2 separate regions of the Homo sapiens genome follow, and region 1 is linked to region 2. The links are contacts of gene promoters, found by promoter capture Hi-C in blood cells and fetal thymus (Javierre and others, 2016). All regions are on one chromosome and are shown on one strand. Each heading gives the region's core, a stretch centred on a gene start or on the middle of the fragment in contact. The rest is flanking DNA. Distances are from core to core; before and after follow the strand shown. Region 1 overlaps PLGRKT (plasminogen receptor with a C-terminal lysine). Region 2 holds the start of INSL4 (insulin like 4).

Region 1 (6,244 bases), core at 1,104-3,603, 180 kb after region 2:
GTAGCCCCTTTATTTTGGCCAAATTCTCCTATTTGGAATGAGAGTGTTTACCCAGTGTATCTTGGAATACCTCCAATGTATCTTGGAATAATGAAATTCTAACTTTTTTTTCCAGAAACATTCTAAGGCATGGCTTTTCAAATTCTTATCTAAGAACAAGCATAGGAGAAGTGGGACCTGGAGAAATTTTTACCTTTAAAAACCCTAGAAACCAAGCATATAAGATGATAAAATGATTGCTTTTAAAATAATAAAATAATATTTTGACTTTAAAACTTTATTTTTAAAAGCAAGAAAAATTGCTATTACTGGCCTTAATTGTACCTATTCATTTTTCTATTTGTGACTGAAATAAGCATTTAAGGTGATCATTTTCAAGTATAAAAGTTTACACTACATTATACAATCTGTGCAATCAACCTCACTATAAACTCAAGACATAGAAATTAACAGAAGTGGGTGGGCACAGTGGCTCATGCCTGTAATCCCGGCACTTTGGGAGGCTGAGTCAAGTGGATCACTTGAGGTCAGGAGTTTAAGACCAGCCTAGGCAACATGGTGAAACCCCCATCTATACTAAAAAAAAGTTCAAAAATTAGCTGACATGCTCACTTGAACCCAGGAGGCAGAGGTTGCAGTGAGCAGTGGGCCAAGATCGTGCCACTGCACATCAGCCTGGGTAACAGAGCAAGACTCTGTCTCAAAAAAAAAAAAAAAGGAAAAAGAAAGAAAAAAGAAAAAGAAATTAACAGAAGTCACCAAAATCATGTTGAAATCATAATTAAGGCAATAAGCAGTTTAAGCAGGCAGGGTTGGGAAAATTATGTTTTAGATTATGCTTCTCTATAAAAAATGAATTAATTTGTTCATACTGAAACTTTGTCTAACACTATTGTCTGTTGCATAGCTCTTGGAATAAGGCAGATCCACAGTAGAAAATTAAAACGTTTCACTTCTAGTACAGGTTTATGGCCTGTACCACAGAGAAAGATTAGAAATGGCATCAGTATATCAAATAAGCGTTTACAAATGAACAATAAAATTTTGTCTCCATTTTTTAAAGCACAGCCTTTTACCTTGAGACCAATACACAACACTCTAGATGAAATAAATCAGCATTATTTACTTCAGCTTGATATAATATTAATTGTTATATGGCTAAACAAAATGGGTATTTGTATGATAATATTTAGCTTAACTTACTCTCTGGTTATGTATATAATGAAACTAGAGATGAAAGAAAAAATGGAGTAGTCATCATGAGCAAATAAGAGAAAAGAAAGCAGACAAGAAAAGATGGAAACAGGCCAGTTGCGGTGACTCACGCCTGTAATCCCAACACTTTGGGAGGCCGAGGCAGGTGGACCACCTGAGGTCGGGAGTTTGAGATCAGCCTGGCCAATATGGTGAAACCCCGTCTCTACTAAAAATACAAAAATTAGCCGGGCCACAGTGGCATGCGTCTATAATTCCAGCTACTCAGGAGGCTGAGGCAGGAGAATCACTTGAACCTGGGAGGCAGAGGTTGCAGCGAGCCAAGGTTATGCCACTGCACTCCAGCCTGGGAGACAGAGCAAGACCCTGTTTCAAAAAAAAAAAAAAAGAAAAGAAAAGAAAAGAGGGAAACACTATTGAGCATCTACTCTGCTACATGAACCAATTCTTGGGTATCCTTCTCCCCATCTTAGAGATGAAGAAGCCAGACTCAGAGAGCCTGTGTCACTTATCCATGGTTACTGAACCAGTAAGTGATAGAGTCAGGTTCGGACACAGGTATATGTGACTCCAAAGCCTGTGAACCTGCAAGTGCACACAAAGAAGAATGAATCCACAGCCCTCAGTAGCCATACCATGACGTTAAGCCACTGCTAACACATCCTCTTGCTGGCTAGGTAAGAAATCCAACTATAAGAATATATTTCCAATTACTGACAAGATATTACAGTTTTAAATTTAACTTAAAATTTCATTTTTTCTTTAGTTTAGCCTACAGTTTATTTATAAGCTTCTGGAAGACATTAAAATAGACTTAAACAAATGGAAAAACATTTCCTATTCTTGAATAAAATGACTCAATAGTTCTTCACAAATAAACTTATAAGTTAATACAATCCCAATGAAAAATATCAACAGACTATTTTATACTTGGGCATGTTGATACCAAAATTTCTGTGGAAAATCAAACATGAAAGATTATCCAAGAAAACATTGAAAAAGAAAAACTACAATGGTATAGTAGCCTCAACAAGCATTAAACCATACTAAAAAGTGTCTATAATTAAAACATTACAATACTAGTACATGACTAGACAAACTGACCAGTGAATTAGAGTGTCCAGAAACAAATGCAAGTACATACAGAGACTTAGTATGTGATACAGGTAGTATCTCAACTCACTGGGGGTAAAGATAGACTTCTTAATAAGTGGTATAGGTACCACAAGGTAGCCGTCTGAAAAAGATAAAACTAGATCCCTATCTCATATCATATATGAGAATAAACCCCAAATGGATTTGGAATCTAAATGTCAATAAATGAAGCTATACAAGTTGCTATGGTTTGAATGTGTCCCCCCAAAGTTCATGTGTGGGAAACTTAATCCTTTATCCTCATGAATGAATAAATGCTGGCTCTGCCCTCATGAATAAATTAATGTCCCTATCATGAGAGTAGGTTTGTTATCATGGCTTTGTTATAAAACCAAGCTTTCTTGGGCTTGCTTGCTCTGTCTTATCATATGATGCTTCCCGCCATGTCCTGATGCAGAAGGAAGGAGACTTCCCAGCCTCTAGAACCATGAGCTAAATCAATCTCTATTCTTTATAAATCACCCAGTCTGTATATTGGATTATAGCAACAGAAAATGAACGAAGACAAAAGTACCACAGGAAACAAGGATAACTGTGGTATAGGGAAAAGCTTTCTACATCAAGAATCAAAATGTAGAGTAAATAAAATATTGGTAACTTGACCACATAAAACTAAACTTTTTTTCATGGTGTAAAAATTTTTAAACCACCGTAAACAAGTGACAATCTGAGATAAAATATTAGGAAGATATATCCATAGACAAGAGGCCAATACTCCTAATATTCAAAGAACACTTGAGGGACAGTAGACAAGAGACCAATAAACAGAAAATTCACAAAAAAAACAAGATATATAAATGGCCCTCAAATGTGAGAAAATGTTCAAACTCACTCATAATTAAAGAAAAGCAAATTAAAGCAAGACTGAGATACCACTTCTTGCTTGTCAGGCTAGCAAAAACTAAAAAGCAAGACAACATACTTTGTTGGTGAGACTTTGGGAAAATAGCCACTTTCAAATTGATAAACCCTTCTGAAGAGAAACGTAGCAATATCTAACAAGTACTTGCCTTTAACTCAGCAATCTCAACTCTAAAAATCTACCCTGAAGATACACCTCTAACAATATAAAAATATGAAAGAACAAAGTTATTCATTGAAGCACTGTTTGTAATAGCAAAATATTGGAAATAACCTAAGTACCTGGGGTGGGCAGAATAATGGGACCTCAGAGAAGCCCATGTCTAATCCTCAGAACCTGTGAATGTATCTCCTTACGTGGCAAAAAAGGACTTTGTAGATCTGACTCAGCTCAGGATTTTAAGATAGGAAAAGAAGAGTATCCTGTATTATCCAGGCCCAGTGTAATCACAAGGGTCCTAAAAGTGAAAGATGGAGGCAAGAGAGTCAGAATTAGAGAGAAATGAAGATGCCATGCTGCTAGCTTAAATGTGGAGGAAGGGCCCATGAGCCAAGGAATGCAGGCAGCCTCTAGAAACTAAAAAAGGCAAGGAAAGAGGTTTTCTCCTAGACCCTCCAGAAGAAATGCAGCCCCCCTCACATCTTGATTTTTATCCATTGAGAACCATTTCAAACTTCTGGCCTTCAGAAATATAAGATAAACAATTTTATGTTGTTTTAAATCACTAAGTTTGTGATAATTTGTTATAGCAATAGAAAACTAATACAGTGTACATACATCATTTGAATAAATTTTGATATAGCTACACAATAAAATTCTATGCAACCATTTTTTTAAATGATAAAGATCTCTATGAATTGATTTGGAGTGGTTTCCAGGATATACTGCTAAATGAAAAATGCAAAGTAAACAATGTATCAATGATATGCTACCCTTCACACATGAGAGAAGGGGGCATAAGAAAATACTCATATAGCTATTAACTGTACCAAATCAATGTAGGAAGGACAAACCAAAGATTTATCTTGGTTAAGAGATTAAACACCTATAGAGGAAGGGTGGGAACAGGGTATTATAAAGAGGAGGGGGAATGGGAATGAGTTAATAGGGAGAAAGAGGAAGAACATTTCTTGGAGTGTATCTTTTTTGTTTGTTTAAGACGGAGTCTCACTCTGTCACCCAGGCTGGAGTGCAATGGTGCAATCTCGCCTCACTGCAACTTCCGCTTCCCAGATCCAAGCGATTCTGCTGCCTCAGCCTCCCAAGTAGCTGGTATTACAGGCACCTGCCACCACACCCAGCTAATTTTTGTATTTTTAGTAGAGACGGAGGTTTCACCATGTTGGGCAGGCTGGTCTCAAATTCCTGACTCCAGGTGATCTGCCTACCTCGGCCTCCCAAAGTGGTGGGATTACAGGCATGAGCTACCGTGAATGTATCTTTTTTATATAGCTTTGACTATTAGAACCATAGCAATGTTTCATATACTCCTCAGCACTATAATTAATTAAAACCAACCAGATGTGGAGAGAATATAAATTATAACAAATAAATCCAACTGCATTACAAGTCAATAAACTAACACTGAAGGAGCCGGGAGAAACTAACCTTACTAACTTAGGAAAACAATATTTTGACTGGATACTGTGAAGACAAAAGGAACATGCAAATAACGTCCTCTGGTTATCGAATCTGTTTCTCACAGGGGTACGTACTGGCAATTCTAAAACTATTTTACATGTCTACTGGGATTGAAGTGAATATAGTGTAAGTGTCCCAGTACCTGAGGAAAAAAAACTTATGAATGAAGAAAGGGGAAGAGCTAGAATGAAATGTGTCACACTGGATTGGAAATAGAAGTGTCAATATGAACTTCTGGTTTAGAAAATATACACAGATAGGTAGATATAGAAATAAATACAGATGTGTGTCTATGCATGGGTTCATATACATACATGTCTTTGCTAAGAGGACAATCATCATAACAGTAAGCATACCCAGAGCCCAGGTCTTGATTTCCAAATATCATTCTCTGACAAAAGGGACCAGGACTCCATGAAGAAGTCATTAATTCCAGGCCTGGAGCAGGAACAATATAAGATAAGCCTGGCATATATTGTGATCACAGAAAAGAAGCAGGTACTCAAAAAAGGATGGGTTCTATTAAAAAGATATAGAAAGCAAATGGAAGTTGGTCAAAGTCAAGGCTGAAACAATCTGGGCCGCAAAATAAATAATGATGGTACTAGTTTATAACCCATAGAGTAAAATGTCCACGAAAACATATTCATATAAATAATTGGATAAATAAACACACAAAGAAGGGACAGCTCTTCCAATTAACAAATACAGATGAAATGAAGTAAATAAAAAAATCACTATTAGGCAAACCTCAGAGTAATAACTGTTGCATGTAAGATCTCACCAATGAAAGATGAAATCAGTGGGCAAAAGTTCAAGAAGAAGCAGAATATTAACAAAGTCTCAAAGTATCTCCTCAAAGATATTTATCAATTAGAAAGAAAAAATAGTAACTTTACAGTGTATATAAACTTGATGGATACAACCTTAACCAAGTGATCAAGGTTAACACCACTAGCAATAAGACATATCAACTTCATGTATCCTCTGATACAATGCAACAAGGAAGACACAAAAGCATTTTGTGGTTTAAGAAAAATAAGCAAAAACATTCACAATCTCAATCTAATCATGAGAAAATATTGAACAAACCCAAAGTAAGAAATTCTACTAAATAAATGACCAGTATTTCTCAAAAGTACTTATCATAAAAGGCAAGGAAAGAAAGAATAACTGTCACAGATGGGAGGAGATTAAGAAGACATCAATTAAATGTGATGGGAGATCTTGGGTTTGATCCTGGAACAGAAAAGGGACTTTAGGAAAAAACTGGTGAAATATCAAAAAAAAAAAAAAAATCAGTGGTTAATAGTATTATACCAATATTAATCTCCTGGTTTTGATCATTGTACAATGACTTTGTAAATTGTT
Region 2 (6,072 bases), core at 271-2,770:
TTATAGTCTCAGCCATAGTCATCCTAGCAACTGCTAGTGTGGCTATAGCATCTACTACCGAATCAGTGCAAACAGCTGCTTTTGTAGACAATTTGGCCAGAAATGTGTCTAATGAACTTCTCTTACAGCAGGGTATAGATCAAGAGATTCTTGCACGTCTGCAAGCCCTCGAGGCTGCCTTGGAATTTGTGGGGGAGCGACAAGATGCCCTAGCATTCTGATAGCAATTAAACTGTGACTGGGAGCATAAACATATCTGTGTCACATTTTTACCTTGGAATCAATCAATACATAGTTGGGATGAGGTGAAACAACACCTCTGGGGAAACTTTCATGACAATTTAACAGCAGACGTAAAGCAACTTAAAACTAAAATTTTAGAATCCCTTCACATGATAGATCTACATACTCAACAAACAGCCATATGGAAAGGTGTGCAAGATCATTTCTCCTGGTTATACCCCCGATCCTGGGGGTCACACTTTGACTGGAAAGGAATGTTACTAATTATACTCATGATTGTCTTACGTTATTTGCTAATTCTATGATGCAAAGCCGGAATAAAAGCAAAACCTAACAAACCTGTTGCTGCACACATCTGTACTCTTAAGTCAACAGAACCCGATGCAAAGAACAGAAAGGGGGGAGATGTGAGAGTTCAGTCAGGCTGGTGGGAAAATTTTTTCAGATAGTTATAAGAAAAAGACGCAAACCTTTTTGAAACGCCGGAGGGGTTTGTATAAGCTCCAGTAATAGATCAGGCTGAAGGCAGCCTAATCCTTACCTTGAGTTAATAGCTTAAGGCACAGATACAAATGAATGTAGTTTATCTAGTTTGTTTACTCATGTGGTCCTAAGACTAATCTTTGATCAACCGCGGGTGCATAATTGCTCTCTACTCGGGAGGTTGGCAATGTCAATTACCTTCTAGTGGTGTTTACTCAAGACCTTCGTCATTTAATCTATGCTGAATAAATGTGAGCTTTGCTGGCTGATCGGGGCCACGGCTGCAACTCTTTACAGCACCCTCCTTGGTGTCTGTAGGTGGCCCGGACCCTCAGCTGGACTGACAGGCAAACTATCTGTGTCAGTGTATGTTATTCATCCGTCGTTGGGTCAGGGTCTGTGGGACAGACCCCCGCAATTAAAAGCTTATATGCCAAATGTTAACTAAGATAATTTCTAGCCAATGAGCTTACAGGTCAGTTCTATTTTTATTTCATCTAAGCAAAGGACATTAAAAATTACCATTATTTTAGTAAGCATAAAAATAGTATTACAGGAGGAAAGTTAAGAAAAAGAAGTAGAACAACCAAATTCAAAACAAGCAAAGTGCAGCAGCACATTGGGAGCAAAGAGGGATATGAGAGTGTGGGTAGGGCAAGTAGGGAGACTAAATAAGAACTGAGGGAGAAAGTTCCTTGTAGGTGGGTGGGAAAGGGGTGGAACTGACACCATTGACGCAAAAGCTGAGTAATAGCCCTAAGCAAATAAATGCCTGATGAAGGCATGCAGAAAGCAGTCTGGAGCCCAGAAGGGACACACCAGCACAGTCTGGTAGGCTACAGCAGCAAGTCTCTAAAGAAAGGCTGAGAACACCCAGAACAGGAGAGTTCAGGTCCAGGATGGCCAGCCTGTTCCGGTCCTATCTGCCAGCAATCTGGCTGCTGCTGAGCCAACTCCTTAGAGAAAGCCTAGCAGCAGAGCTGAGGGGATGTGGTCCCCGATTTGGAAAACACTTGCTGTCATATTGCCCCATGCCTGAGAAGACATTCACCACCACCCCAGGAGGGTGGCTGCTGGAATCTGGACGTCCCAAAGGTGAGAGCCCTGGACTACCAAACAATCAGAATGAGGCCTGAAAAAACAGGCTCCAGATCTCATTGACTGCCTGTAGTCAACTCAGACTCTACTGTGGCTAGTGCCTACAAGTTTGTGGTTTTTCATTGTAATGTGCTTTTATTAAAAGGGTCTCACCAGAAATCTCATGGGAAGTTGGGGGTAGAGGAGAAGCTGCAGGAAAAACAGAAGAACAGCCTCACCTTGGAGGCTCTTGGTGCCTTTCCCACCTGGCAGCCAGAGATACAGGGTGGAGAAAACAGGGAATCCTCAGAGAAGGTGACTATTCTCAAACACCAGCAGGAGGTGAGGTGTACTCCCAGACCCCCAGGAAAGCTGGGCAGGCCAGAAAACAGGTGTGATTGCAATGAGATGCCTGGGCCAGGCATCTTCAATTAAGAAGAAAGGGGACAAACAGTGAGGTGATGAGCTGATTATCATTTCTGTTTATGCACCTATTGGCCTAGGGGCAGCACACTGAGACCTCTGTTAGGTTCCTGGAATGTGAGATAAAGGGGGCTTAGATTTAATAACTCTCATCCTTTGTCATTAAGCTGGGCAGTGGTCTATGTCACCAAAAACGTCCTCTTACAAAAAAGTTTTTTTTAATGCACACCAACAGAGCACCTTGCCTCCCATTTCTTTGAATCTACTCTTGTAGTGTGTTGAGAGAGATGAGATGAAGAGAAAGAAAGTGGCCTGGATGACTAGAGGGGAAATTGAAGGGGACCAGAGACAAGGGAATTTCACTGTTCAGACCATCATAGCTGATTTGATTAGTGTTTTCAACATTTGAGACTGCAAAGCATTTTCTTTAAAAGCAAGATTTCAGAATTGAGGAAAGTTCAATACCAGGATAGTTTTCAAACTTTACCAAGTAACAAGGTATTCATAAAGATAAATTGCCAGCTAAGTTAAAACTAGCAGGGGCAGTTTCGAAAAGAGATAGAGGCTACTATATTCTGTCTAATAGGTCGTATTAAGTTCTGAAAAGCTAAGTTAAATTACTAAACATTGTTTTACATTTAATACAAATGACACAGGTTTTGAACCAGCAATGTGTGACTCCAGAACTGCTTCTTGTAACCCATATGCATACACTTCATTAAATCATTAAATGACTCTGTTTAAAGTTATCGTGCACAGTGAATGCACTTGGATTTTGTGTGATTTATATAACGATTTCAAAGTTATTTCCTTTTTTTACATTATTAGTCAGAGCTTGTTTCATTTTACTATAAAATAAGGGAAGAATACCACAAAGTCCAAACAATTTCTAATGCAAACTAAGGAAGAGCATGCTGTACTATAATTTCTATTTAAATTTCACTTTTTTTCAGTAAATAAGTGAAAATCCTCATTTAAATACTTTGACAAATATAGATAAATTTAACAAGAAAAATGGAAAGTATTCATGGATAACAAATGTTAACATTTGGTGTCGACACATATAGATGTATGTTGCTTCTCAGCCTTTTAGCTAAGATCCACTGATATAGATGTATAGATTTATGTGGATCAGATTTGAATATCTGAATCTTTCTATTAGAATAACTTGTGATTATAAAAAAAATTCCCTATTGCTATCCAGTACATAATGCATTGAGGTTATCAATCAAAACAGTGTCAGGGAGAGTCAAAAGTGGTATGGTATAGGCATTTAGAGGGTCATTAGAAGAGTGCATAGAGGGGACAGGATGAGGAGTTAGCATATCCTTAATATTGTAGTATCTTAAAGTGCCCTACTCTAAGTAAGCTAAGTTGTTGAAATGTTAGGATACTTGCTGATTCTCTCTGGTGTTTAATTACATGGAGGCAATGGGTACATTGTGGTCTAGGCAAATTGTATAATTTTTCTGATCCTCTTTCACATGAATGTTTTTCCTCACCTTTCATTCCTCTCTTTTACTTCACAGAAATGGTGTCAACCTCCAACAACAAAGATGGACAAGCCTTAGGTACGACATCAGAATTCATTCCTAATTTGTCACCAGAGCTGAAGAAACCACTGTCTGAAGGGCAGCCATCATTGAAGAAAATAATACTTTCCCGCAAAAAGAGAAGTGGACGTCACAGATTTGATCCATTCTGTTGTGAAGTAATTTGTGACGATGGAACTTCAGTTAAATTATGTACATAGTAGAGTAATCATGGACTGGACATCTCATCCATTCTCATATGTATTCTCAATGACAAATTCACTGATGCCCAATTAAATGATTGCTGTTTATTAGAACATGAGAATCATTATTAGTATTCACATGTTTCACTTGCTCTGTACTAATATAGTCTCTCCAAATGGAGGAAGTTAGATAGATGGAATAAGTTCTAGTAGTTGATAGTACAATGGGGAAATTATACTTAACAATAATTCACTGTATATTCCAAAATAGCTAGAAGAGAATTGTAATGATTCCAACACAAAAAAGATGAATGTTAGTTTGGATGCATATCCCAATTACCCTGATTTGATCATTACACATTATATACACGTATCAAAATATCACATGTACTACAAAAATGTGTATAACTGTAATATGTGAACTACAAACTTACTGGAAATAAATTTTTAAAGTTTTACACACATAAACACATACGTTCACACACACTCACTCAAGTCTCTTCATTTTTCCTCTTTTCACACTAGAAGAAATGTAAGAGATAAAGGATCTAACCATCTCTAACATCAGCTCATAGTACGGAGGAAAAGCAGTGAAGGAATGAACTGGTGGGAGAGGTATTAGGCATGTTCACCCTAGGGTAAACCCAGAGACCTCCCTAGAACTTTGCCCAATGCATATCCTCCACCTGCCTCTCAGCACGCTGCCTTTAGACCTTCAATCATTCTATAAACTCCTCTTTTGTCCCTGGCATTACTCCACATCCCCTCATCAAAGTGGTGAATTGGCACAAATACTGGCATTCCTCTGGCTACACATACCTCCTCCCTATGTGTCTCTAAATCCTAAATCAAAGAGTACATTTTATACTCTGTCAGTGAGGTTCTACTAGTTGTGTTTGTTTGTTTGCAGGCTAACTGAAGCTGCTACTACCTCATTATCAGGTCCTATAAACTTAATTCAAGTGGCATGATTTGAGTAGCCCCCTGTGCCTGCCCATAAAGTGCTCTGAATCTAGTGTGGGACATGGAGAAGCAAAGGATAATAAGTGCAATGATACTTGTAGGTCATCATAGAGACTGTAATGATCCACAGGAATCAGGGTCGTGTTTAATGCCAACATGTGAAAGAATAAATATACAGGGAACAGTGTAGGTAAGAGGAGAGAGCAAAATTTCCCTAAGGAAACTGATGGCTGATCTGCATCTTGAAAGACATCTAAGCAGAAGAGAGTGCAAAAAGGGACAAGTAGAAGCCCAGGAAAATGCACAAAGGCCTGGAAGCATAGCATGTGTGGAAACAGCCAGAGTCAGCAGGGCAGGAGGTGGTGTGGAGAAAAGGAATTGTCAAGATCTGGTTGGAATGGAGACAGGAGAGAGGATCTCAAACGATTCCACACAATGCAGCTATGGGGTTTAGGCTGCATCCTGGAGTAAGGAAGAACTGCTCATGATCTTGATACATCTCTCATAAAGAACTTTTTCCTACCAATACTCTATTGAAGATGAAGAGGGATCATGGGAGTCATAGGGCAGAACTCATAGATTATACTGTACAGTCTGAACTGTACCACCTGGTTTGCCTAGACTCCTCTAGATTGTTCTTTGAGAACAAAGGGGAGAAGCGCATAAGGTGTATTTCTTGACAGTAGTGTCGATCAATAAAATATCAATATTTTGGGTCTCTACGTTATTCATGATCAATGATTGAGTTTACTCTATGTGTCTATCAGTTTTCTAGGACTTTAGGATTCAGGAGAGAAAAAATAATAATTATGCTTTCATGGAGCTTCTACCTGGTTACTTGACTGACTCTGAACCTTCTCTTGGCACATGCATTCTATACATAATTCTATTCTTTTAGTAAAAATAGAGGTATGAAAAGAGGATAATAGAGAAAGCTCCATAATTTTATCTGGTGTCTATCATTTCAATCTCTTAACCAGGAAATACCCAAAGACTGCTTCCAGGAGGATTTTTAGGAGATGGAAATATCTCTCACTCTTTGTCCCACTGCTTATAAACCTGCATGACACCCTAAAGTGACAGCAGGACAGGCACCTAGAGTGGTTCCAAGGATGTATGAAGTCCTTCAGCTGCTTTAAGAAAGTACA

The links. The method cuts DNA at HindIII sites, captures the fragments that hold promoters and counts their contacts. A CHiCAGO score of 5 or more calls a contact.
Region 1: a fragment that was not itself captured here is called in contact with the fragment with the promoter of INSL4 in region 2 in 7 of 17 cell types (endothelial precursors, megakaryocytes, non-activated CD4 T cells and 4 more); the score reaches 6.7 in endothelial precursors.

The regions. Positions count from the first base shown.
Region 1 is chr9:5,409,797-5,416,040 of GRCh38, forward strand. The region is part of intron 3 of PLGRKT (plasminogen receptor with a C-terminal lysine); the gene reads right to left. Among named protein-coding and RNA genes, the nearest start is that of PLGRKT, 25 kb to the right of the region's middle. The HindIII fragment of the contact is 701 bases long and covers 2,004-2,704 here.
Region 2 is chr9:5,229,899-5,235,970 of GRCh38, forward strand. It overlaps INSL4 (insulin like 4), which reads left to right and starts at 1,521. Exons shown (of 2, transcript NM_002195.2): 1 at 1,521-1,821; 2 at 3,756-5,406. The coding sequence starts at 1,626. The coding sequence ends at 3,979. RefSeq lists a promoter at 798-1,615. The HindIII fragment of the contact is 5,637 bases long and covers 1,150-6,072 here.